Linked DNA regions of Homo sapiens: regions 1, 2, 3, 4, 5 and 7 are each linked to region 6. Evidence: promoter capture Hi-C in human tissues and cell types (Jung and others, 2019). All regions are on one chromosome and are shown on one strand. The core of a region is centred on a gene start or on the middle of the fragment in contact, and the rest is flanking DNA. Distances in the headings are between cores, read along the strand shown. Region 1 has its middle 150 kb from the start of ZMAT4. Region 2 overlaps KAT6A (lysine acetyltransferase 6A). Region 3 has its middle 130 kb from the start of ZMAT4. Region 4 has its middle 52 kb from the start of ANK1. Region 5 overlaps LOC105379771 (a long non-coding RNA gene). Region 6 holds the start of GINS4 (GINS complex subunit 4). Region 7 has its middle 170 kb from the start of MIR548AO.

Region 1 (4,011 bases), core at 1,422-3,921, 480 kb after region 6:
AACAGAGCCTGACGAATGTTTTGGTAAAAGGAGAGCATCTTTGACACCTTGGGCAAACTCTTCAGATGTGACCCTTTCTCATCACTTCGGGGCAGTGCCTGGACTCAGTCCTACTGCTGGACCCAAACGTCATGTTAGTCCCCTTGGGGTGGCCCTGGAGGCTGGTGTTTTGGCAGAAAAATTGTTTACCAAGTTTTAAAATTCTGACATTACTGGCTGGGTGCAGTGGCTCACTCTTGTAATCCCAGCACTTTGGGAGGTCGAGATGGGCAGAGGCCGAGATGGGCGGATCACTTGAGGCCAGGAGTTTGAGACCAGCCTGGCCAACATGGTGAAACCCTGTCTCTACAAAAAAATACAAAAATTAGCTGGGCGGGATGGTGCATGCCTGTAATCCCAGCTACTCAGCAGACTGAGGCAGGAAAATCACTTGAACCCGGGAGGCAGAGGTTGCAATGAGATGAGATTGTGCCGCTGCACCCCAGCCTGGGTGAAAGAGATAGAATTCTGACATTAACCATATTTTGACCTTGTCTTAAGAGAATACTCCTTTGGAATTATCACAGATTCTGCACCTTTCACAAAAATGAAGTTGGGTCAAATGTCCTACCTAAAATCTCTATTTATTTATTTATTTATTTATTTATTTATTTTTGAGATGGAGTCTTACTCTATCGCCCAGGCTGGAGTGCATGGCATGATCTCGGCTCACTACAACCTCCGCCTCCCAGGTTCAAGCAGTTCTCCTCTCTCAGCCCCCGGAGTAGCTGGGGTTACAGATGCCCACCACCATGCCCAGCTAATTTTTTTGTATTTTTAGTAGAGATGGGGTTTCACCATGTTGGCCAGGCGGATCTTGAACTTCTGACCTCAGGTGATCCACTACCCTTGGCTTCCCAAAGTGCTGGGATTACAGGCTGGTGGTTTGACTTCCTCTTACTAATTTGGATGCCTTTTATTTCTTTCTCTTGTCTGATTGCTCTGGCTAGGACTTCCAGTACTATGTTGAATGGAAGTGTTGGAAGTGGGCATCCTTGTCTTGTTCCAGTTCTCAGGTAGTATGCTTTCAACTTTTCTCCATTCAGTGTAATGTTGGCTGTGGATTTGTCATAGATGGCTTTTATTACGTTAAGGTATATCCCTTCTACACCGATTTTGCTGAGGGTTTTAATCATAAAGGGATGCTGGATTTTGTCAAACACTTTTTCTGCATCTATGGAGATGATTATATTTTTGTTTTTAATTCTGTTTCTGTAGTGTATCACATTTATTGACTTGCCCATGTTAAACCATCCTGAATCTCTGGTATGAAATCCACATGATCATGGTGGATTACCTTTTTGATATGCTGCTAGATTTGGTTAGCTAGTATTTTGTTGAGGATTTTTGGATCTATGTTCATCAGGGATATTGGTCTGTAGTTTTCTTTTTTTGTTATGTTCTTTCCTGGTGTTGGCATTAAGATGATACTGGCTTCATAGAGTGATTTAGAGAGGATCTCGTCTTTCTCCATCTTTTGGTGTAGTTTCAGTAGGATTGGTACCAATTCTTCTTTGAATGTCTGATAGAATTCAGCTGTGAATCCACCTGGTCCTGAACTTTATTTGTTGGTAATTTTTTTAAATGACCACTTCTATCTCACTGCTTGTTATTGGTCTGTTGAGACTTTCTGTTTCTTCCTGGTTTAATCTAGGAGGGTTGTATATTTACAGGAATTTATCCATCTCCTCTAGGTTTTCTAGTTTGTGTGCATAAAGGTGTTCACAGTAGCCTTGAATGATATTTTGCGTTTCTGTGGCATGAATTGTAATATTTCCCATTTCATTTCTAATTGAGCTTACTTGGATCTTCTCTCTCCTTTTTTTGGTTTATCTCACTAATGGTCTATCAATTTTGTTTATCTTTTCAAAGAACCAGCTTTTTGTTTCATTTATCTTTTGTATTTTTTTGTTTCAATTTCATTTAATTTTGCTCTGATCTTTGTTATTTCTTTTCTTCTGGTGGGTTTGGGTTGGTTTGTTCTTGTTTCTCTAGTTCTTTGAGATTCCTTAGATTGTCTGTTTGTGCTCTTAAAACTTTTTGATGTAGGCATTTAATGCTATGAACTTTCCTCTTAGCACTGCTTTTACTATATCCCAGAGGTTTTGATAAGTTGTGTCACTATTATCGTTGAGTTCAAGTACTTTTTTAACTTCCGTCTTGATTTCATTGTTGACCCAAAGATCATTCAGAGCAGATTAGTTAATTTCCACGTATTTGCATGACTTTGAGGGTTGGAGTTGGTTTCTAACTTTATTCCACTGTGGTCTGAAAGAGTACTTGATATAATTTTGATTTTCTTGAATTTATTGAGGCTTGTTTTGTGGCCTATCATGTGGTCTATCTTGGAAAATGTTCCATGTGCTGATGAATAGAATGTACATTCTGCAATTGTTGAGTAGCATGTTCTGTGAATATCTGTTAAGTCCATTTGTTCTAGGATATAGTTTAAGTCCATTGTTTCTTTGTTGACCTTCTGTCTTGATGGCCTGTCTAGTGCTGTCAGTGGAGTATTAAAGTTCCCCACTATTATTGTGGTGCCATCTATTTAATTTCTTACGTTAGTAGTAATTGTTTTTATAAATTTTGGAGCTCCAGTGTTAGGTGCATATATAGGATTGTGATATTTTCCTGTTGGACTAGTCTTTTTATCATTAGATAATGTCCCTTTTTTTTTTTAACTGTTGCTGCTTTAAAGTCTGTTTTGTCTGATATAAAAATAGCCACTTCTGCTCACTTTTGGTGTCCATTTGCATGAAATATCTTTTTCCACCCCTTTACTTTAAGTTTATGTGAGTCCTTATGTGTTAGGTGAGTCTCTTGAAGACAGCAGATACTTGGTTGGTGAATTCTTATTCATTCTGCAATTCTACATCTTTTAAGTGGAGGTGAAGGATTTAGGCTATTTACATTCAACGTTAGTATAGACTATGTGAGCCACTATTCTATTCATCATTCCAGTTGTTTCCTGAATACCTGTTTTTAAAAATTGTATTATTGTTTTATAGGTCCTGTGAGATTTATGCTTCAAGGAGGTTTTGTTTTCATGTATTTTGAGGTTTTGTCTCAAGATTTCCAACTCCTTATAGCAGTTCTCATAATGCTGGCTTGGGAGTGGCAAATTCTCTCAGCATTTGTTTGTCTGAAAAAAGCTTTATCTTTCCTTCATTTATGAAGCTTAGTTTCACTGGATACAAAATTCTTGGCTGATAATTGCTTTGTTTAAGAGGGCAAAAGATAGGACCCCAATCCCTTCTAGCTTATAGGGTTTCTGCTGACAAATCTGCTGTTAATCTGATAGATTTTCCTTTGTAGGTTATCTAATGCTTTTGCTTCATAGCTCTTCAGATTCTTTCCTTTGTCTTCACTTTAGACAACCTGATGACTATGTGCCTAGGTCATGATATTTTTGCAATGAATTTCCTAGGTGTTTTTTGAACTTCTTGTGTTCAGATGTCTAGATCACTCACAAGGCCAGGGAAGTTTTCCTTGATGATTCTCTCAAATAAGTTTTCCAAACGTTTAGATTTCTCTTCTTCCACGGAACAGAAATTGTTCTTAGGTTTGGTCATTAAACATAATCCCAAACTTTTTGGAGGCTTTGTTAATTTCTTTAAATTCTTTTTTTCTTTATCTTTGTTGGATTGGGATAATTCTAAAGCTTTGTCTTTGAGCTGTAAAGTTCTTTCTTCTACTTGTTCAATCCTATTTTGCATTTCCCTAAGTGTGTCTTTCATTTCCAGAAGGTTTCATTGTTTTTTATTTATGATATCTACTTCTCTGGAAATGTTTTTGTGCATATCATGCATTATGTTTTTAATTTTTTAGGTTGGTTTGCACCTTTCTCTGGTACCTCCTTGAGTAGCTTAATAATCAATCAACCTTCTGAATTCTTTTCCTGGCAATTCAGATATTTCTTCTTGGTTTAGATCCATTGCTGGTGAACTCATGTGATATTTTGGGGGTGTTAAA
Region 2 (3,498 bases), core at 985-3,484, 450 kb before region 6:
CGAGTAGCTGGGACTACAGGCACGTACCACCATGCCCAGCTAATTTTTGTATTTTTAGTAGAGACAGGGTTTCACCATGTTGGCCAGGCTGGTCTTAAACTCCTGACCTCAGGTGATCCACCCGCCTCAGCCTCAGTGGACTTCAAGTGCAGTCAGTGGACTTCCAGTGCAGGCTTGAAGGTGTATGTGAGTCTCTTCCAATTATTTGTAGAATTTTGTGTGTATATGTTTTAATGTTTATTTTGGATTGGAGGGGGTATTCATCAGATTTTCTAATGACAGTCTTTTACCTGAAAAAGTTAAGATCCTGACTTAAGACTATCTGAAACCTTTCAGTGTATTTATGTCTGTCACACTTCTATGTGGAATTTTATTTTTTTATAGGCATGTGGATATGTCAAATATGTCGACCTAGGAAAAAAGGACGAAAACTTCTACAAAAGAAGGCAGCACAGATAAAACGGCGCTATACTAATCCAATAGGACGTCCAAAAAACAGGTTAAAGAAACAAAACACGGTGTAAGTTGTACTTGTGGCAAGGTGAGGGGAGAAAAGGATAGGGTCTTCTCTATAGTGTAGGATTCACTTGTTTTCTCTATGAAAAAAATTCCATTGTCATATCTGGCACTTTTATATAATAATAATGGCTAACACTTATTCAGCCCTTAATAAGTGCCAGACACTATTCTAAGTGCTTTATATGCATTGAATTGTTTAATTCTGCCAACAACCCAGTGAAATATAGCTGCTGCTGTTACTTTCATTTTTCAAAGGAAGAAACTAAGGCATAGTAAATGTTGAACTGGGATGAAAATCCGAGTAGTCTGGCACCAAAGTCTGACTCTTAACCATTGCTTTATGTTGCTTCTCTTATATAAAAACAGGAAAGAAAAAGTTGTTACTGTGACATTTCACATGTCACTCTCCTGATCTTGTCTCAGTTGTTAATATCTATTAGGTGTACAAATCACTGGATAGGTTCTTCCTATTGAGGTGATGGCTAAGTCCCATTTTTGTGTTCTTTGGATGTAAAATAATTTGAATGTTTTCATCTATTAGCAGAAATCAGAAATTGTGGACTAGAAAGCTGGGCTATGTCTGGAGGAGGTGGGGCAAGATTCAGTAGCTAGTTTTGTCTTTTTAAAAATGTCTGTAGTAACTCACCTTTGATGATATGTAAACGTCTTCAGGCTTGTCAACCTCCCTTTATTATCAAAAGTTTTACTTACTTTTTTTACACGTAAGACTATCTTGAAGGTGATATAACTGAAATGAATGGGCATTAGCAGCCTGAAATGTACAGAACCAATATTGTAGTCTATATTCAAAATCTTAAATCAAGCTTTGATTTTCCTATAAAATGATCTTTTGATTCCTGGCCTTCGAAGAATAACCCATCCTTGTGTTTTAGAGATAAAAGTATAACTTTCAGTTGGTGCAGAGATCACAGTGTAGTAGAACTTTATACCTGGAAGGATCTTAGTTGTTCTTAGTCCAGTTCTCATTTTACAGATGAAGGCACTGACATATGTTTAGAAAAAATGTGATTTGTCCAAGTCGTACAGCTAGTAAGAGAGAATTATGACTAGAACAAGTCTTCTGACTCCTGGCCTGTCATTCTTTGCACTATAAGTAGGCTTCCTGGCAATAGATGTTTCTAATAATAATATTAATTTTCATTCACAGAGTACTATTTATAGTTTGCAGAATATTCTTAATAATATAGATTTTAATAAAGCTGTAGGTTACTTACTAATTATATGTTATGTATTAAAAAGGAACCTTACAAGTATCTTTTTTAATACTTACCCTTTCCCCTGTTTAATTGTTTAGATCAAAAGGTCCCTTCAGCAAAGTTCGAACTGGCCCTGGAAGGGGTAGGAAACGAAAAATCACTCTTTCCAGCCAATCAGCATCATCATCATCAGAAGAAGGATATTTAGAGCGGATAGATGGCTTGGACTTCTGCAGAGATAGCAATGTCTCCTTGAAGTTCAACAAGAAAACCAAAGGGCTCATTGATGGCCTTACCAAATTTTTTACCCCTTCCCCTGATGGGCGGAAAGCTCGGGGGGAAGTGGTGGACTACTCTGAGCAATATCGAATCAGAAAGAGGGGCAACAGGAAATCAAGCACTTCAGATTGGCCCACAGGTAAGAGTTTAGAACAGACTTAGAAACAAATAGTATTCTGTACATGTATTATTCGGGATAACACTAATTATCTATAATGGATTTATATTTGATTATTAACAATTGGTTATAGAATATAAGAACACATTGAAAAAACATGTAGATGATACTGAGGTGATAACTGTGGCAGGAATTTAGAGGATGGAAATAAAGTTGCAGAATGGGACAGTAGGAACTCTTAGGCAAAAGGAAGCTGCTTTTTTGTAGAACCACAAAGAATCTGCCTAGAGAAACTTGGGGTGTAACCTTGAGGATTACTTTACATTTCACAAATTACTAAAGAAATCATATGGTGAATGTTATGATGCCTGCTTATTCCAGGAAGGAAACTGGAAAGAATAGAACTGGGTGAAATGCTGTTGATCTAAGCATAAAAAAAAGACCAAAATATTTGCAGATGTGATGAGGTCATTGACTTTTCTACTTCAGATCTTGACAAATATAGTTGTAAGTCATGGATTGCACTTAAAAAGGGAGAGACAGAACCACAGCTCCAGGCTGCTTATGTATCAGGCTAAGTTCCCTAATTTTCAAAGTAGAAAACATCTGTGGAGAGGACTTAATAATGTGGCAAATCATTCAAGTCAGAGGAGAAGAATTTGATTAACTGTCCAATAAATTAAAGCTTAAAATAGTCTTATTGCTGAGCCTTGAATTTAGAGATACTAACCCTGTGAAGGAAGTAGAAAGGGCTTGAAGAAAGTAGAATGAGAATGAACTCTTTTGGACCACAAGGGCCAGAGGTGTAGTGTCTCATCTACTACAAGAGAATTCCCTGACCTTGGTTTCCTCCCTGAATGTCTCCTTGGTGAGGGAGAGTGTATTCACTGCTCTCATTCGTGGTTGATTGTCCAGTGCAGGAGAGAAAGTCCTTGTAATTGTCAGAGTCCCCTTTGTATGCTTTATTGATTGGTCTTTTACCATAGTGATGATCAACTAATTACTCTTTAAGCATTCAAGACTCTTCATGTCTTTATCAACCTGTAGATAAGTTCCTGATCTGAGCATGTTTATCTAAGAAAATATGCAATCCGTTTAGATTAAACTAGGAAAGAATCTCAGAGCAAATCCTAATGAAAGACATTTTTGAATTAACCATTTGTACTGGAGACGGTTTATTAGAAGAATCTACTAGAAAGCTTTTGAAATAGAAATTGTTAGAGCAAGTGTATCAAGTATATGGAGAACCAATATTGAATTTTTGACAGTGGTGTGAGCGTTTGCTTTAATAGGCTCTGTCATTTTCTTTATGAATTATAAAGTTTAAGTACCGAATGCTGTATTAGAGAGGTGCATGCATCATGC
Region 3 (4,043 bases), core at 1,299-3,798, 510 kb after region 6:
ATATATTTCTGGCATTGGGAAGGATGGTGATTGTTGGTTCGACTTGGCTGGGGAGACAATGGTCAACTTCATCTCCTAATAGAAATGACTTTTGAGTTGTGAGCAGAGAACATACCAAACAACACCCTTAATTTCCAGATAAGACAATAAAGGCTGCGAAGAGTAAAGTGCCCTTCCCAAGGTCACACAGAATGGACAGAAATCAGAACTCAACCTTTTGGCACCAAGACCAGGGCCGTGTCCACTTTATCATCCTGTATCTCCGTATGCCTGTTCTTTTCTTTAGTTCCAAGAATAAAATTGATATCCAAGGAGAGTTCACCCTTGATTCAGATTTGCCTGCATGTAAGTACCTCCTTCCCCATCCCCCAGACAGGAAGCAGTGCTCAGATGGAAGAAGGTGGCACTCTACGGTGCTTTGATGGTGTCTCTCTCCGGGCCCCCTTGCTCTCCCGACTCTCCTGGTCGTTCTTGTATGGATTCATGTGTTGCTTTCTGATCTCACACACAAGTTCCTGATTTTCTTCATACTTGTCATATTTTCTGTTCCTTTGGGTGGTTTCGTACTTTCCATGACCTTGTCACCTACTGCCTTAGTTCATTTTGCATGGCTGTAAAGAAATACTGAGACTGGGTGATTTACAAAGAAAAGAGGCAGGCTGGATAATATAGTGAAACCTTGTCTCCACAAAAATAAACTTAAAAATAGCCAGGCATGATGGTGCACACCTGTAATCCCAGCTACTTGGGAGGCTGAGGCAGGAGGATCACTTGAACCTGGGAGGCAGAGGTTGCAGTGAGCTGTGATCCCACCACTACACTCCAACACTCCAGCCTTGGCAATAGAGTGAGACTGTGTCTCAAAAATAGATAATTTTTTTTAAATTTTACTTTAAATTCTAGGGTACATGTGCATAACGTGCAGGTTCGTTACATATGTATACATGTGCCATGTTGGTGTGCTGCACCCATTAACTCGTCATATACATTAGGTATATCTCCTAATGTTATCCCTCCCCACTCCCCCAACCCCCGGCAGGCCCTGATGTGTGATGTTCCCCTTCCTGTGTCCATGTGTTCTTATTGTCACTCATCTGACAAAGGACTAATATCCAGAATCTACAAAGAACTCAAACAAATTTACAAGAAAAAAACAAACAACCCCATCTAAAAGTGGGCTAAGGACATGAACAGACACTTCTCAAAAGAAGACATTTATGCAGCCAATAGACACATGAAAAAATGCTCATCATCACTGGCCATCAGAGAAATGCAAATCAAAACCACAATGAGATACCATCTCACACCAGTTAGAATGGCAATCATTAAAAAGTCAGGAAATAGCAGGTGCTGGAGAGGATGTGGAGAAATAGAAATACTTTTACAATGTTGGTGGGACTGTAAACTGGTTCAACCATTGTGGAAGACAGTGTGGCGATTCCTCAAGGATCTAGAACTAGAAATACCATTTGACCCAGCCATCCCATTACTGGGTATATACTCAAAGGATGTAAATCATGCTGCTATAAAGACACATGCACACGTATGTTTATTGTGGCACTATTCACAATTGCAAACACTTGGAACCAACCTAAATGTCCATCAAAAATAGATACATTTTAAAAAATAATAAAAGACGTTGATTTGCGTTATGGTTCTGCAGGCTGTGCAAGAAGTGTGGCATCAGCATCTGCTTCTGGTGAGGCTTCAAAAAGCTTCCAATCTTGTTGGAAGGAGAAGGGGGAGTAGGCATGTCACAGGGTAGGAAAGGGAGCAAGAGAGATGGGAGCAGCAGGAGGAGGTGCCAGGTTTCTCCCAACAGTCAGTTCTCACGGGGACTCACAGAACAAGAACCCACTCATTATCTTGAGGACCCCACCAAGCCATTCATGAGGGATCCGCACCCATGACCTGAACAGCCACCACTAGGCCCCACCTCCAACACTGGGGATCACATTTCAACATGAGATTTGGAGGAGACAAACACTCAGACTTTATCATCTACTTATACCCTAATGATGCCCAAACTAATATCTCCAATTAAAGCTTGTTTCCTTGGCTTCCGAAGCCTGTGGAGCATCCCAGTCTGTCCCCTCAGTATGTGGTGGACAGAGCTGCGTCTACATCACTTCCCTTTATATAATCCTTTACTGGCTCTTTAACACCTGCAGGAGCATGTAACTGGGCACACAAGGGCCTCCATGACTGGGCATCAGCCTAATTTTCTAGCATTACCACTTTACAGTCCTTGCCTCTCACTATGTCCCATAATAACACCTGATAGCCATCATCTCCTTCCATCCCTGTGTGCCCCACCTGGTATACCTTGAAGTTCTGAACTCTTTCTGCACTGGTATGTTGAGACATAGATGTCACTACTATCCATGACTTTTTTTTTTCTTTAAGAGGGAATCTTGCTCTGTCACCCAGGCTGGAGTGCAGTGGTACGATCTCAGCTCATGGCAACCTCTGCCTCCTGGGTTCAAGCAATTCTCCTGCCTCAGCCTCCCGAGTAGCTGGATTATAGGTGCCCACCACCATGCCTGGCTAATTTTTGTATTTTTATTAGAGACGGGGTTTCACCATATTGGCTAGGCTGGTCTCAAACTCCTGACCTCAAGTGATCCGACTGCTTTGGCCTCCCAAAGTGCTGGGATTATAGGAGTGAGCCACTATGCCCAGCCCATGACTTTTTTTAAAGAAAAAATATTGTCATAGGAAAAAGTTTCCTTTGTTTGGGATTCCCCATGTGTGTTCCTACAGAGTACCTTGGTATCTTGGAATCTTGGTATGGAACAATGTGGAGTTTGAGAAAGCCCCCAGTCACCTTGTTTGTCACGCCCTCCCTCAGGAGGGGATTTTTCTCTGTCACTGAAAATAGCTGCTGAGGGCGGATATGACCCCCACCCTTTCCCCATGTGGAACAGAGGCATTCATTGTCCCCTGTGGATTTCCGTCTTGTAGACAAAATCATCTCTCTCTGTCGCCACTGAGACACAGTTCGTTTTGAAGCCTGAAGGTTTCCCTTGCTTAATTGATGAGGAACTAATAAAGCATGCCCTGTTCCTTGGAGTACAGCCCTATTAATGGCAGGATTCTGATATTACTTTTGCACACGTATTAAATTGCAGCCCAGAAGCCAGATCTTCTACTCTTTGCAAACTTAATGGAAAGCAAGGGAGGCAGGTGGCAGTAACAGGTAAATGATGAACAAGAGTCATTGTGTGCCTGGAGTTATTAAATTTTTTTCTGGGGCAGTCTCAGAAAAATGCTCCTGGGCCTTATCTAAGAATAATAGATTTTGAATCAGAGGGGACCTTAAAGGTTATCAGAATTTAGAGGTAATCTGCCGCCCAGGGTAAAAATCCCATCTGCAGGGACTGCGATAAATGGTTATATCCAGCCTTAAAAAAAAAAAAAAAAGTTTCCAGTGACTGGGAGCTCAAGGCAGCTTGAGGCAGCCAATCATTGTCAGCAAATAGAAAGCTTATCTTAGCGAGTAGCCACTTCATAGTTGACTCAAAATATAATCTGTTTCTAGAATAAACTTCTGGATGGGACACAAAATAAACTCTCACTCTACTCATTTCTTGTAGCTATACACAGATAGAGCTAGATAATTCAATTGGAAAGACTGTAGAACTGGAGGGGCTCTGAATCAAGTGCTCAGATGCCCTGGATTTATTTGGCGAGTACCAGCTGCAAACATTTGTTCCATTGTCAGACTAAATGCCACAGCCATGATTTCCAGTCACTGCAGCAGGAGGCCATCCCGAAGGGTGATGTAATTCCCATTACAGTTGATGGAAACAGCAGATTGAAAAAAAGAAGCACAATGACAAAAAAAGGTAAACCCCTAAAGTGAGTTTCTTTTATAAGTCACTACAGCACTTATACTTGATTCATTTATAATTACAGGACGTATTTATTCATTAGTTCTTGATGTGTGGATGAATACTCAGATCGCTTATGAAGACTGAGATTTTCCCAAGCATCTGGGTTCTGTATATTGGAAATAAATCACTGATTGATTCTTTGGTTTG
Region 4 (4,006 bases), core at 1,504-4,003, 320 kb before region 6:
GGCTCAGCCATCTACTACTAGCCGTGTGTGATCTTAACATACTACTTTTCTTCCTAAAGCCTCAGTTTCCTCAGTTATAAAATGGGCATGGTGATGTCTGAACATGCAGGATAATACAGAGAAAGCCTCTGAGGAGGGTTATGAATATGATCTTGCTTGTGCTCAGGACTGGGGGCCAATGGTAGAGGAATGTTATAGCTGAGCCAGTTAACACACTTGTGCTTAGCCAGACCTTAAAAAAAATTAATAGAGACAGGATCTGGCTCTGTCACCCAGCTGGTGTGCAGTGATACAATCATGGCTTACTGCAGCCTCAACCTCCTGGGCTCAAGTGATCCTCCCACCTCAGCCTCCTGAGGAGCTGGGACTACAGGTGCATGCCACTGCTCTGACCAATGGTTTTTTTGAAATTTCTTTGTAGAGATGAGGTCTTGCTGTGTTGCCCAGGCTGGTCTCAAACTCCTGGCCTCCAGCAATCCTCCCGTCTTAGCCTCCCAAAGCACTAGGATTACAGGTGTGAGCCACGCACCCAGCCAGCTAGGGCTTTTAATACTTAGGTGTGAAGGAGCAGCCTCCAGAGGTGGAGTCGTACTGCAGGAAGTGAGGCCCAGCAGGCAGGAAGGGCAGGAAGCAGTCAACACCACTGCTTGCCTGCCCTGTGCCTAGCACGGAGCTAGGCATTTGGCCTCATGTGAGCCCTGGGTTTAGACCTAGTAGATTCAGATCCTGTTGGGAGCAGGGTTGGGCTCTGGCTTTTCTGTGGGCCTGCAACGCCCACTGCCTCATTGCTGGAGTGTTCTCTGCCATCCTCGGGGAAGCTTCTGCCTCCTGGTGAAGCTTCAAGGGAGGAAGAGAAAGAAGAGACAGACGAAGAGAGAAGCCGCTGAGTAAGCTGATGTCCATGCTGTGCCATTAATATTGATCATGATTTGGTCGATTTCATTCTGTGAACTCTGCAGCTCCAGTATTGATCTCTAAGCACTAAAATTGAATAGGGAGGCATCTTACTGTCAAAAGTCAGCTCAGAGCTGGAGCAAGTTTTGATTGAAAAGACACAGGTAAGATTTCTGGGGAGGTGCCTTCTTTTCCAGAGACCACAGAAATCTCAACCAGTCTTCTCTTTACCAGACACCCACCTGGTGTTGACTCACCCCGCCTCCCTTAGAAAGAGGCCGGGTAGCCTATGTGATGACATGCACGTGAGCTTTGCCATGAGACTAACCTGGGCTTCGCTCCTGGCTCAGCCACTTACTAGCCGAGGCTTCAGGCATATTGCCTAAGCTTCTCATTCATTTGTTTTTCATTCAATAATTAGTTATTGTGGGCCAGGCATGGTAGCTCATGCTTGTAATCCCAGCACTTTGGGAGGCCAAGGCAGGAGGATGGCTTGAGCCCAGGAGTTTGAGACCAGCCTGGGCAACATAGTGAGATTCCCATCTCTGCAAAAATATAAAAAATTATCTGGGTGTGGTGGCTCATACCTGTAGTCCCAGCTACTCGGGAGGCTAAGGCGGGAGGATCACTTGGTCCCAGGAGGCTGAGGTTGCAGTGAGCTATGATTGCACCACTGCATTCCAGCTTGGGTGACAAAGCAAGATTCTGTCTCTAAAAGGTAAATAAATTCATAAGTACAGATTAAAAATGACTATTTATTGAACATCTGCCAGGTGCTCATAATATGCCAGTGAGTTAGTTAGACCTGCTACTGTTTTGGTCATTTTTTTTTTCTTTCTGGAAGAAACAACTTTTGATTTTAAATTTTTATTATGAAAAATGTCAACTATACTCAGGTGAAGAGTTGTCACCGTTAGCCCCACTTAAGCATTATTTAGTTTCAACAGTTATTAGGCATTCAGGCGGAACTTTTAGCCCATGGGCTAAACGACGGCTGCACTGTAACGAGAGCGAAAGGAAGTTGCCGGGACCCCCACCAAGCCTCAGTTTCTTCATCTGCAAAATGGAAAAACTCTACTTATCTTATAAAGGGTGAAGCGAGTGACTTCACGAAGCGTGCTGAGCCTGGTGCCGGCAGGAGGGTGAGGATCTCATGTGTGGGAGCGGTCGCAGGGCTGTGGGGAGGCTGCAGTGAGGGACTGTCTGAGAGCCGCTGCCAGGGCTCTGACAGCGTGATCAGAGGAAGGCCATAAAGGTTTGTGGGGATCCCTGTGGTGATACTGTCTGCTTGTAGCATGGTGCCTGGCCAATCGCAGGTGCTCCATAGATAATGGGGAAGATGAAGATGGTGCTGGAATAAGTTTTCTCAAACTTCAGCGTGGTTGGTGAAAAAGAGTTAAGAGGAAGAGAGAAAATTGTGAGTGACGTGCTGACGAAAGGAGCTGAGAGATCACGTAGAAAAGACATCGTCCTGTTAGGTGAAATAACAGAGCATTAACTATTAAAGAATGAAAACACTGAAGTGATGGAAAGCCCTGAGTGTGTGGTGGGCACCTTCCCTGCGCGGCGGTGGGATCCGAGGGGATCATTGTCATGCTCAGGATCCTGCCTTTGCCTTCAAGGGGGTTACCCTCTATTTGGGGAAATAGGACAGGAACTCCTGATAAATGACTACATTTTTTTTTTTGGGACATTGTCTCGCTCTCTCTCCCAGGCTGGAGTACAATGGTGTGATCTCAGCTCACTGCAGTCTCTGCCTCCCGGGTTCAAGCAATTCTTCTACTTCAGCCTCCCTGGTAGCTGGGATTATAGGCACTTGCCACCATGCCCGGCTAATTTTTGTATTTTTAGTAGAGACGGGGTTTCACCACAGCCCAAGGCCAAAGGCCAAGGCCAAAGAAGAGCTGCCATGGGATGAGGTTGATAAACTGGCCTATTACTTGTACAGACAGTAAGTGTGAGTTCAGAAGAGCACAGGTCCCTTCCAGTGCAGACATCAGGGCAGCCTCACCCAGAAGGTTTCCGTTAGGCCTTCGAAGATGGGCAGAGGATATGAAGTGAGCCCCTCCAAATGTGGTTCAAAGGTCCCTAAAATAATGTTGAAGCTTGGTTCCAAGTTCACACAGTTTAGTCATTTTTGAATTCTCTTTGGGTTTGATTCCAGTCCCTGGTGCCCTGTCTGGCCCTGGAGGGTGGAAACTTCAATCAATAATGCTCCAGGTGGACAGAGGCAGGTCAAGCTCCAGGTGGATGGGGGCAGGTCGCACCAGGGGCAATGGTCACAGGCCTGGAGACTGGGTCTGGCCCAGGGCCCCTGAAGCAACGTTCCCTGCAGTGGGGAATGGGCTTTGCAGTGCAGCCTGGGGCCACCTACTCCCTGCTTGGACTTGATGTATCCAGTTGTAAAATGCGGATACCAATACCAGGCTGTCTGCACAGTTATATAAGGATTGCATGAGATCACCTTAAGAGCAGTAAATTCAGCTGTCCAGACCTGGGGCTATTTTCAAGTTGATGTAGTCTGGTCTCTCTTTCAAAAAGGGTGAGATATTTTTCTTCACCTTCAAGGTGGAAGGAGAAGATCCATTTATCCCCCAACTCCCAGTGTTCTGGGCAATTTGATGAGAGACAGGGTCTCAGGGCACAGACGACAGCACCCCCAAACCAGGCCAGGGGCCCAGGGCTGGCCACTGGGGAAGGGCATCAGCAACGTCAGTCCTGGGCCTGGTCTCCCTGGGCTCGGCTCTGCAGGGACCAATGGTGCTGCACGCAGGCGTGAGTGACTGTTAATGCTTCACGCTTCCCACTTCCCCTGTGAGGTCTTCGCATTTTAGCCAAGAACCTTCTAGAGTCCAAAGGGATTACTTACTCTACGGTGGAAAGTTGGGAAGCTGTGTGATCTGATAGAAAAAAATCACTGGGTGTTTTATGCAGAGGAATGTGCTAGATATTTGTTGCATAATAATGTATATTGCACAGTTTTATTTATTTATTTATTTATTTATTTATTTATTTATTTATTTTTGAAATTGAGTCTCACTGTATTCCCCCAGGCTGGAGTGCAGTGGCATGATCTCAGCTCACTGCAACCTCCACCTTCCAGGTTCAAGTG
Region 5 (3,633 bases), core at 861-3,360, 350 kb after region 6:
ACATATATGTGAGAATGCATTTGTTTGGCAATTTCTTGCAAGTAGGATTGCTGGGTCAAAGGTGTGTACCGTTGCATTTTGTATGAATATTGCCAAATCACACTCTAGAGAGGTTGCACTAATTAATCTCTACCTATCTTAAAGGTGAAAAACTGTAGATAATAGAATTTTAAGTTAGCTTTTCTCTTATTATGAATAAGGTTGAGTACACTGCCCGATGTTGTAATCCATTTTTAATTTCATTTCTGTGAGCTGTCTTGTTTATGTCCTTTCCCATTTTTCTGTTGGAATTTGGTCTTTTAATTTTGCAGTGCTATTTGTATGTTAGGGAAATCTGAATTGCACATTTTTTCATCAATTTATTGTTTTTTATAGGTCATTTTGAATAACTTAGTGCAACATAGTATTGACCTAGTTTAGATGCTTTGTTTACTTAAAAAGTATAAAATCATATATTGAAAAAGAATGCTGTGCAAATTAAAGGTTTACTATTACTGAGTCTTCTGTCTTCAGATGCAGAGCATCCTAATGAATAAGAATTGAAATAGTCAAGAAACACTGAACACAGCCTTTGGTGCTGTGAGTAACACAAACAAGTAAATTTCAAAATCCATCATTGAGTAAGTCAGAAGTGATGGAGGCCTGGCTCATGCCTATAATCCCAGCACTTTGGGAGGCTGAGGCAGAAGGATCACTTAACATCAGGAGTTCTAGACTAGCCTGGGCAAAATAACAAGACCTCATCTCTACAAAAATAAGTTTAAGAAAATTAGTGAGGTGTGGTGGTGCCCATCTGTAGTCCTAGCTACTTGGGAGGCTGAAGTGGAAGGATGGCTTGGGCCCAGGAATTTGAGGCTGCAGTGAGCTGTGATCACACCACTGCACTCTAGCCTGAGCCAGAGTGAGACATTGTCTTAAAAAAAAGTGATGGATCAATAAAATGTTGGAAAGTGGAGACAGGGTGTGGGCACATGTGTTTGGGCAGAGTGAGGATGGGAATGGGAACCCCTTTGCCTGCAGGAGAATGCTGCATAAAGCAGGCATGTTCAGATGTCCTATGGGGGAAAAAGAAAAGAGGCAGTGCAGCGACCTAGGAAGTGTGCAGGCCACCAGGCAAGGGCTTAAAGAGGTCATGTCAGCAAGTACTAGCCCAGTGCTACTAAAGGAGTCAAGGCCTAGATGAGCTGGCCTTCTCACCAATAAACTCCCATTGCCTCTTCTGTGGCTAGGGTCATAAATACATCTGTGGCTTCTCTTGCTATCCCATGTCCAACCCATTGTTCAGGGCACCTGAATGAGGCTTCTAGCACCCCTGAATGAGCACCAAAGACATAGGTCTAAGTCAGCCTGGAGGGAGGTGGTGCAACTTCAGGCCACCCCATCTCCCTCTTCAGTTCCTTCTGTTACAAATGCCAGAAACAAGGGGAAAGCAAACCAAACAATTTGTTTTCCCTTAAAGAACAAGACTAGCTGGTGAAGCTCAGGCCTGCTGGGCATGGTGGGATAAGATACTGACAGAGTTATCAAGGAAGCCAAAGCCAAAGACAGCACCAAGATGCATTATCTATGGCAGTTGCAGTCAACCAGCCATTTTTGATAGCTATTAACATTGTAATACACTTTTCTGTTGATTAGATTGGTTAGGCCATTTGACCTGTTCTAGCCCTGCAGAATTTCTGCGGCCAGACCTAAAATGCTGGAAATCTGCTCTCTGGTAAGGTCTAGGCATGCATCCTTGCCAGTTCCTTTCTGTATTTCCTAGGCTTCTTGTCCAGGTTTCACAAACTTGGATACACATAACAGATCGAATTCCAGCTTGGATGCATGGAGTATTGGAACAGTCAAAACCTTCAAGTGTGGTCTCAAGATCATTAACAAACAAGTCATTTCCATAACATGATAGTAGCTTACTAATTGCCTCCTTATGCCATAAACTGTGCATATATGTTCTTTCTAAGTCTCTCGATTGTCCAAGGTAGGTATGACATTCTTTACTTTATATTTTTATAGATGAAGCAACCTTAACTCAGAAGGGTTAATTACCTAAGGTCATATGGCTAGTATGCAATTAGCTAGAACTGGGATTTGAACCCAGTTCTGTGTAAACCCAAGGCCTGAACACTTGCTACTTCCCCTTGCTACATTCTCCATTGCCATGATGAGGCCAAGGTTTCTTTTCTAAACTACCAGATGTAGAGCTCCATAACATCTCAGGATTGTGTCAACTCTCAAATCCCATAATACTAGGTATTGATCTCAATGATCAACATTGTTCTTAAGATTCTGACAACTATACGAAAGAGAATAATTACCTGCTCAATGCAACTGGAGAGCAGTTACACACACACACACACACACACACACACACACACACACACTCCTATGATGAATTACTAGACCATAGATTAGAGATGATAAGGACATTTAAAGTACATGTAGTCACATGGTACAATAAGCCAAAATCATTGGGGAAGGCTTTCTGAAGGAGAGAATTTCTGTTTTAGACCTCAAAAGGTGATTAGAATTTTGAGAGGTAAAAGAAAGAAGAGGCTGGCTTTGCTTTCTGGCCATGTGGTGGACTAGATGTCCTAGAAAAACTCCCCACTCAATATGGCTAAACTCGCAGGATACAAAATTCCTTTGAAATGCATCACTGAGTTTGCAAAAAGGTGAGAGTATTTCCCAAGGGCTAAAAACAAAGAGAGTTGCTAGTGCTTTTGGTGGTCCTGGTTGTCCAGAGCAAGGGTTGGAAATCATTTTCTGTACAGGGCCAGATAGTAAATATTTTTGGCTTTACGAGCCCAGATGGTCTCTGTTCAAACTACTCATCTCTGCCTCTGTGGCATAAACGCAGCCACAGACAATACATAAGCAAAAGGGCGTGGGAAGACTTGCCTAGCTGTGAGCTCAGTTTGGCCCATGAGTTATGCTTTGCTGATCTCTGATCTAGGGTCTTGGGTTTTAATGCCTTCTGTGGATCTTCTGTTTTGGGGCCCACACAAGGTGAGAAGATTGAACTGAGACAACCCTCACATGTGTAAAACAGGATTCCTGGGGCAGTGTGGACTAGATGAATGAGGCCCCTGGCAAGGGAAGACAGATAGGGATACTTGCTTTATGAAGTGCGACTCTGGTGAAAAAAAGAAATTTGAATTTGTTACTATAGTTAGGCCTACTGCTATGGTTTGAATGTGTCCCCTCCAAAATTCAAATGTTGTCAATGTGATATTATTAAGAGATGGAACCTTTGAGAGGTGATTAGATAATTAGACCATGCAGGCTCCTCCCTTGTGAATGGGATTAAGCCTGTTTAAAATAAAGCTTCATGCCACATTTGGTTGGCTAGTCCTCCAGCTCTTCTGCCGCGTGAGGACAGTGTGCCAGCCTTCTGGAGGATGCAGCCTCACCAGACAATCAAACCAGCTGGCACCTGGATCTTAGACTTTCCAGCCTCCAGAACTGTGAGGAATAATCATCTATTCATTATACATCACCCAGTCTCAGGTATTTGTTGTTGCAGCACAGACAGACCAAGACACTTACCCTCACACATGCTTGAGGTTTGGATTTGTACTAACTGCATTGTACAGGAAACTTCAAGCTATGCAATTAACTTAAAGTGGTTATTTAAGT
Region 6 (3,641 bases), core at 385-2,884:
ATCCAGATAGTCTGAACTCCTGTTACCAGAGCATCATGAGATATAAGTGTAAAGAACACAGTTACTGGCACATGGGAAATATGCAGTAAGTCATAGCTATTACAACTTAAAGGAGAAATATTTCAGAAAGGATTTTAGATAAGCAGTGGACATATGGAGAGCAGACGACTCAAGAAAAAACATGTGAGAAAAAGGAAAAATATGACCAGTTTTCCCTTACAGGCATTTCAGCATTTTCTTGCTAAACAGGCATTCTCCAGGGAAACAGCAGATGTTCAAGGGACTAAGGTAAAGAAGTTCAGGGACCTCTACAGTCCCTGAAAATATCACGTGGATCCTTGCTCTGTGAACTGTTCACTGAATGTGCCCAAAGCTGTCCCTTACTGACCCCACTTGGGGATGCTGTGTTTGATATGATGAGGTCTCTAACAGAGGATGTCCTTCTTGCTTCCCGTTTCCATGTAGATGGTAAGATCCAGTCCCTGTTCTAAAGTAAGCCCCAAATTCCGTTTCCTCATCTTGTGATCCCTGATATTCACAGTTGAACTAAATAAAAAGGCTGACTGGAGCAAAGGGATTCGATCTGGGATGCTTACCTGCTCCAATCTTTCAATGAGCTCTGCAGGAGTTAGGACCACTTCCTCACTACCCCCATCAGAGTCCTGTCCCAGGAAATCCACTTCTTCGGTCATCTTCTCTGAAACCAGGAACCTAATGAGAGGGAAAGAACCAATACTCTGCAATGCGTTTTCTAATTATCTGCAAGAACAGACATCTATCTGGAGAAAGGAAAGGTTTATTGAGGTTTCCTGGGGTTGTAGAGGCCCTTTAGCAAGTGGTGAGAGAACGCAGGGACTCTAGTTTTCCAGTGTCTGCCTCTTCCTCCAAGGCTTAGGTCAGGTATCCGTTTCTCAAACAAGCCTCCCCCTTACTTCTGTCCACCAAGAGCTGAGCACCCATCACACCATACAATCACTATTCATTTCTTTGACTTCCCAGTAGAGGTCTTGTTCCTCAGGGACGGGGTTCGTTTTAGTTCAAATACGAATCGCGCCTCTGCTCAGTGCCTGGCACTAAGCACTGGGGACGCAATGACGTGGGAAGCCCCTGCGCTCAGCACAGCGCTTGACTCCTAGCAAGCACTTAACATTATTAGGAGCTGGCCGGGCTCACGCCTGTAATCCCAGCACTTTGGGAAGCCGAGGCAGGAAGATACCTTGAGCCCAGGAGTTCGAGACCAGCCTGGGCAACATAGGGAGATCCTGTCTCTATAAAAACAAAAATTGTTAGGAAGATTAATCAATGCTAATTTCCCAGAGCCACAAGGGCCGGCGACATTAGACCAGTCGGCGATCCCAAAGGCCTAAGGAGGTGGATGGCGGGGACAAAGAAAGTCCCTGGGGTCGCAAGGAAACTGCGAACATCCCCCTCCCCTCCTCCCTCTCAGTGCCACCCACACAGGCCTGCCCTAGCCACAGAGGTCCCATTCGACGCTCACTCGGGGACCTGGGAGACAGCGAGGCACTCCACAGCAGCCGGCGGTAAGGACGGGGCGTTCGTGGGGACGCAGTCGGGGCACCAGGAAGCGGGAAGACAGAGGAACAAACTGCTCAAGGACTTGCCGGGACCAACTCAACCCTGCAACTTCTCAGCTCCCGCGCTACTCTCGCAAAGTTTCCGCCCAGGCACGACGTCATCGCGCAAGGGCGACGCTGACCAATCAAGGCCCGGGGGGAAGAGCGGGGCGGTCTCCTTGGGCCCGCCCACCCGGCGGGCGGGGACTGTCTTCGCGGCGGCCTGCAGTCCCAGCAACCCAAGGACTTGAGGCGGCGGGAGGCTGGTCCGGGTTGGCCCCGCCCACCTGGGGGCCGGCCGCTCCGCTGTGCGGTCCGGGTTGCACTACCCAAGAGCGTCGGGAGGGGGCGCCCGCCACCGCGGCCAAGGGGAGCGGCGGTGTCCGCCCCGGGGGGTCCCACCCAGAAGTATGCTGTTGAAAGCAGGCCGCTGCAGCCTCCTGGGCCGTCTCCACCCACAGCTCTCGTGGCTCTTTGGGTTCCTCCGTCTTTGCGGGGTTTCACCTGTGGTCAGTGTGGTCATTGCCTTCAGAATCTCCAGTATATTCCTTTTCATCTTTCTTGAGACAGGGTCTCGTTCTGGTGCCCAGGCTGGAGTGCAGTGGCACCACCACAGCTCACTGCAACCTCCGCCTCCCGGGCTCCAGCGATCCTCCCACCTCAGCCTCCGGAGTAGCTGGGACCACAGGCCAGCGCCACCACGCCCAGTTATTTTTTAATTAAAAAAAAAAAAAAAAAGAACTGTGGCGGGGTTGGGGGTGGGGAGGTTCTCCCTATGATGGCCAGGCTGGTCTCGAACTCAAGGATCCAAGCAATCCTCCCACCTCGGCCTCACAAAGTGGGTACTGGTTCTTGAAGCCTGGGATCGGACGACCAGCAGAAGCATCGCCTGGGAATCCGTGAAAATGCAGGTTCTCAGGCCCCACCCTGGCCCACCGAATCAGAAACTGGGGGTATTTCACCAGACCCAGGCCCTCCCGGTGACCCTGACACAGCTGAGGTTTGAGAATCACTGCTTTGGGGCCGGGCGCGGTGGCTCACGCCTGTAATCCCAGCACTTTGGGAGGCCGAGGTGGGCGGATCACGAGGTCAGGAGATCGAGACCATCCTGGCTAACATGGTGAAACCCCGTCTCTACTAAAAATACAAAAAAATTAGCCGGGCGTGGTGGCGGGCGCCTGTAGTCCCAGCTACTCGGGAGGCTGAGGCGGGAGAATGGCGTGAACCCGGGAGGCGGAGCCTGCAGTGAGCCAAGATGGCGTCACTGCACTCCAGCCTGGGAGACAGAGCCAGACTCCATCTCAAAAAAAAGAAAAAAAAAGAAAAAAGAAAAGAGAATCACTGCTTTGGGGCAATGCTTTCAACTCACCTTCTGGAGGGGAAAAGCACAAAAACCCATGTCTGTATATGTATATATTTTTTCCATCTTTGTGTGATCCAGTTTTTCTTCTCTGAGTTGCTGATTCTTTTCTCTTTGCTGTCCTTTGTTTTCTGTGCAAAGCGTTGCTTCTGGCTTCCCTAAAAGTATCTCTTCTCCATCAATCTGAGGGCTCTTTGCAAAGCTGCCCTATGATGTCATATTGATTGACTAGTAAAATGATTGGCTAATATAGTATGATCGTACCTGCCTGATTACAATCCTGTTATGAAAATGACAATAGAATAAGCCGAGTGAGAGAGTAGGCATCTTTACAAAGCGCTGTGTAAGCTGGGGCATATCAGCACGGGATTCCCAAAAGGAAGGGACATTTGAGCTGTGTCTTATGAAATGAATTTTGTGAGTGGCAAATAGGTGGTTATTTCAAGGTCTGTTTCAACGGTTTGGTAATCCAGTGGTTTTTGGTTGTGGCAGAGTGTGTTTCCCAAACATAGCTGCTCTAATATGGATCTCACCCCACATACCCTTCTTACCATGTGACATTGACACTCCTCCATCAAGAGGTGGGGTCTATGTTCTCACCTTCTATTTATTTATTTAGAGACAGGGCCTCACTCTGTCGCGCAGCCTGGAGTGCAGTGGGGCGGTCACGGCTCATTGCACCCTTGACCTTCCTGGGCTCAGGTGAT
Region 7 (3,835 bases), core at 335-2,834, 420 kb after region 6:
CAAGGCCAGCCTGGTAGAAAGCAGCTTTGCCTTGTCAGCTCAGACTTGCCTTTTATCAGTGCCAAGGGATGATCTAACTCGTGAGGCAGAGTCCAGGTAAGTAACTAATTAATTGATTAATTAATTAATTAAATTGGACGTCAGATGGAGAGTGTCTAGTTAATTACACGCCTCAGCTCATGGCGTGCTATAACCAGCCTTGCAGAACTCCTCTCTGACTGTAGTTTCATTAATATTCCCCCTCTTTCCTCATCCCAATTTCCATCTTCTTTCCCCACATTCATCTGCTCTGACGTGTTTAACACGCCTGCTTGGGTGTGTATGCTTTATCCCCTGTGGGCCTCGGAAAGCTTTCTCAGGAGCACACCCCAGGAGAGGGCGTTCTACCCGTAGCCAGATGCGTTCCTGACATCATGAAGGACTGTAGGATCCTGTCTCAGAATGGGGTCCTCGTTCCACACCCACCAGTGCGCTTGAGAGGATTGTTTAACTGCCCACTTTCTCCGCTCTGATGAGGGGAAGGTGGTAAGTGGCTTTAATTTGCACACTTGTGAATGCCAGTGAAATTGAACACCATGTATACCTGTTAGCCACCTAGGCTTTCCTTTCTGTCAATTGCTAATTCCTACCTCTTGCTCACATTCTATGGGCTTCCGTCTTTTCTCAGTTGATTGCTAAAAGTTCCTTGCGTATTCTATAATAGACGTGATCCCTTGTTGATTTTTAAAATTGTGAATGTCTTCCAGATTTGCCACCAATTTGTCAATTTCATCTATTGTGTTTTTAATGAACAGAAATCCTTACTTTTAATAGACTTAAATCTACTGTTTCCCGCTTTTGTGCTTTATGCTTTCGAGGGGCTTATTTAGGAAATCCTTAGCTTCCTGACGTCTTAGAGATAAGACGTCTCTCATCCATTGCACAGTTCTCTTACCACACTGGTTTTGCTTTTCGCTCTTAGGCCTTCAATCCACCTGCAGTTTACCTTTGTGTATGGATGAGCAGGAGATGCAACTTTATTTTCCCCAGTGTACAGCCTCTTTGCCAAGCCAGCACGGACTCACTTCCTGCGCTTGTGCTTTAGGTGTGCTTGCTGGCTTTGCAGCTTAACTCCTAGAGGGGACTCCATTTCCTTTACTTATAGTGCTACCTCAACAGCGCCCCTTGTGCTTCTCCCATGCACTTACAACTTACAACATAAGACTGAAGTGCGGTGAGACGATTTGGAAAAGCATTTTATAATTTATATGTCAAGTGTCGTTTGCTTTGACCCAGTGAATCTGTTCTTGGGAACTGAAAAAACTTTTCTGAGTTAAGATGGTCACTTATTTTTGTTAGTAAGCAATTAGAAACAATCTAAAAGTCCCAGGAATATAGAAATCATTGTCATAATAGCTTAGTCACTCAATGGCTAATTTGAAACAAGCACAAGTAATGATTATGAATGGTTTTTAGTAAAAATATATAAAAATGACCATCATATAATGTTCGGTACAAAAAGAACAGAAAGCTGCACATAGAATGAAAATCACATTAAAAAGTTAATAAATATCTTTACATGGTAAGATGATATGAGCATTCATTTCTTCTTCTGAATGTTCTGTATTTTCTAACTTTTATTATATGTTCATTTTATAATGGAAATAAACTGTATTTGTAAAAGTAAACTAAGCATCAGGTTTATATGCTTTTTTTCTTTCTTTCTTTTTAAGACAGGGTCTTGCTCTGTCACGCAGGCAGGAGTGCAGTGCTGTGATCATGGCTCACTGCAGCCTCAACCTCCCAGGCTCAAGTGGTCCTCCCACCTCAGCCTCCCGAGTAGCTAGGACTACAGGCATACACCACCACACCGGGCTAATTTTTGTATTTTTTGTAGACATGGGGTCTCATTATGTTGCTGAGGCTGGTCTCAAACTCCTAGGCTCAAGCGATCCTCGCACCTCAGCCTCCCAAAGTGCTGAGATTACAGGCATGAGCCACCGCATCCGACCTCAGGTTTATATGCTTAACTCAATCACTCGCACTTTACCTGAGCAACTCTCTGCCAGGGGTGAGGGAGGCCGCGTCTCCTAGCATCATCACACACCCACAGGTTGTGCACTGTTGTTACAATTTCTGAACGTGGAGAAGTAGACTGACCACGTCCCAAAACCCACAAAACTGAAGGCTTCTCAGCTGTGAGGAAGAAATTCAACACTCGGGCCAGTTACTTGCTCCTTCTTGTTTCTGAAGAAATGCAGCTTCTAGGGGTCCTTGCTTAAATATTGGGCTGATGTGGGACTGTTCTCTGAACCGTGATCCTAATAACTCTCCCTTCCCTCTCACGCTCCTCAAAATCAGAGCTAGCTTTCCTCTTTCCCAAATCAGCCCATATTTTTAATGTCTCAGGATATTATGGTCCTGATATAGTTTGGATCTGTGTCTGCTCCCAAATCTCATCCTGAATTGTAATCCCCAGTGTTGGAGGTGGGACCGGGTGGGAGGTGACTGGGTCATGGGAGTGGTTTCTCATGAATGGTTTAGCCCCATCCCACTTGGTCCTGTCCTAACAACAGTGAGTTCTCTGGAGATGTGGTCATTTAAAAGTGTGCAGGGGTTGGGTGCAGTGGCTGGCGCCTATAATCCCAGCACTTTGGGAGGCCGAGGCAAGCAGATCATGAGGTCAGGAGTTCAATACCAGCCTAGCCAATATGGTGAAACCCCGTCTCTACTAAAAATACAATAATTAGCACGGCATGGTGGTATGCACCTGTAGTCTCAGCTACTTGGGAGGCTGAGGCAGGAGAATTGCTTGAACCCAGGAGGCGTTTGATTAGCAAGGCATGGTGGCACACACCTGTAGTCCCAGCTACTCAGGAGGGCAAAAGGATCACTTAAACCCTTGAACCAGGAATTCCAGGCTACAGTGAGCTGTGATTGTGCCACTGCACTTCAGCCTGGATGACAGAGTGAGAATCCAACACTTTTTAAAAAGTAAAGTAAAACAGTCACAAGGTCATCATTCTGCCTAACATGATACAACTATCCTACATAAAATCAAAAACACTAATTCTTGTCCCAGAAGAAGTTGCAAAGTTCTTGGGTGATGTTTACCCTTCTCCTTGATATTCTGTAACTTAAAAACTATGATGTAATGTTAACAATGCTTAAATACTATCATATAAGGTCAACACATCTTATGTTACATGATAGAAGGATAAGAGTGGGAGGAAAGTAAAGATACTTGCTATAGATACAGAGATATGTACACACAGGTATTCACAACAAATAAGGAAGAAATATTCATTTCTGTTGTGGGTTTCTATAACCATATTTCTATAGCCGGTCATGAGGTCATGGCTTGTAGTTACAACTACCTCTTCTACTAATCATGCTATATCCCCTTCACCCTTAGCAAGCACCTCAGCTGGTGTGGTTTTTTACCTGTGGGGTGACCCAAGCCTTCATTGCTAAAGGGTCTGACCCATATTCCTGCCTGGATTGACTTATTGTAGTTTTCCATTGCAGTTATTGTAGCTTTCCATTGACCTGAATCATAGGCCGTGGTAATACCAAGATACGCCCTAAGGGATCTCTTGCATTCCAGATGTGCTCTTCCTCGCTTCCTGGCCATAAGTGATCCTCCCACCCTGATCTCCTAAAGTGCTTTTCTCGGAGATTAAGTATGGTGTAAGGAGGTGCATGAGTGCCGAGCTGACAAGGTGAGGACTTGCGATGGTTAATTTTATGTGTCAGCCTGGCTAAGCCATGGTGCCTAGATATGTGCTCACGCATTATTCAGGATGTTTCTGTGTGTTTTTGGATGAAATTAACATATAAAGCAGATTGCCTTCCA

What was found. The method cuts DNA at HindIII sites, captures the fragments that hold promoters and counts their contacts. A contact is called where the count stands out against the background at its distance.
Region 1: a fragment that was not itself captured here is called in contact with the fragment with the promoter of GINS4 in region 6 in 2 of the 25 tissues and cell types used here (heart right ventricle and mesenchymal stem cells).
Region 2: a contact is called between a fragment that was not itself captured here and the fragment with the promoter of GINS4 in region 6, in 1 of the 25 tissues and cell types used here (mesenchymal stem cells).
Region 3: a fragment that was not itself captured here is called in contact with the fragment with the promoter of GINS4 in region 6 in 2 of the 25 tissues and cell types used here (lymphoblastoid cells and stomach).
Region 4: a fragment that was not itself captured here is called in contact with the fragment with the promoter of GINS4 in region 6 in 2 of the 25 tissues and cell types used here (adrenal gland and mesenchymal stem cells).
Region 5: a contact is called between a fragment that was not itself captured here and the fragment with the promoter of GINS4 in region 6, in 4 of the 25 tissues and cell types used here (bladder, mesenchymal stem cells, mesendoderm cells and 1 more).
Region 7: a fragment that was not itself captured here is called in contact with the fragment with the promoter of GINS4 in region 6 in 2 of the 25 tissues and cell types used here (H1 embryonic stem cells and IMR-90 fibroblasts).

Annotation. Positions count from the first base shown.
Region 1 is chr8:41,050,098-41,054,108 of GRCh38, reverse strand. No RefSeq gene overlaps it. Among named protein-coding and RNA genes, the nearest start is that of ZMAT4, 150 kb to the right of the region's middle. The HindIII fragment of the contact is 3,878 bases long and covers 733-4,011 here.
Region 2 is chr8:41,975,664-41,979,161 of GRCh38, reverse strand. It overlaps KAT6A (lysine acetyltransferase 6A), which reads left to right. Exons shown (of 17, transcript NM_006766.5): 6 at 385-520; 7 at 1,835-2,154. Among named protein-coding and RNA genes, the nearest start is that of KAT6A-AS1, 74 kb to the left of the region's middle. The HindIII fragment of the contact is 4,974 bases long and covers 1-3,498 here.
Region 3 is chr8:41,021,831-41,025,873 of GRCh38, reverse strand. No RefSeq gene overlaps it. Among named protein-coding and RNA genes, the nearest start is that of ZMAT4, 130 kb to the right of the region's middle. The HindIII fragment of the contact is 3,598 bases long and covers 750-4,043 here.
Region 4 is chr8:41,848,099-41,852,104 of GRCh38, reverse strand. It overlaps a transcript of ANK1 not described here. Among named protein-coding and RNA genes, the nearest start is that of ANK1, 52 kb to the right of the region's middle. The HindIII fragment of the contact is 3,387 bases long and covers 1,060-4,006 here.
Region 5 is chr8:41,177,839-41,181,471 of GRCh38, reverse strand. All of the region lies in intron 2 of LOC105379771 (a long non-coding RNA gene), which reads left to right. Among named protein-coding and RNA genes, the nearest start is that of MIR548AO, 91 kb to the left of the region's middle. The HindIII fragment of the contact is 9,170 bases long and covers 1-3,633 here.
Region 6 is chr8:41,527,254-41,530,894 of GRCh38, reverse strand. GINS4 (GINS complex subunit 4) reads right to left here and starts at 1,634. Exons shown (of 8, transcript NM_032336.3): 1 at 1,499-1,634; 2 at 597-711. The coding sequence starts at 692. RefSeq lists a silencer at 1,659-2,088. The HindIII fragment of the contact is 17,762 bases long and covers 1-3,641 here.
Region 7 is chr8:41,102,554-41,106,388 of GRCh38, reverse strand. No RefSeq gene overlaps it. Among named protein-coding and RNA genes, the nearest start is that of MIR548AO, 170 kb to the left of the region's middle. The HindIII fragment of the contact is 7,626 bases long and covers 1-3,835 here.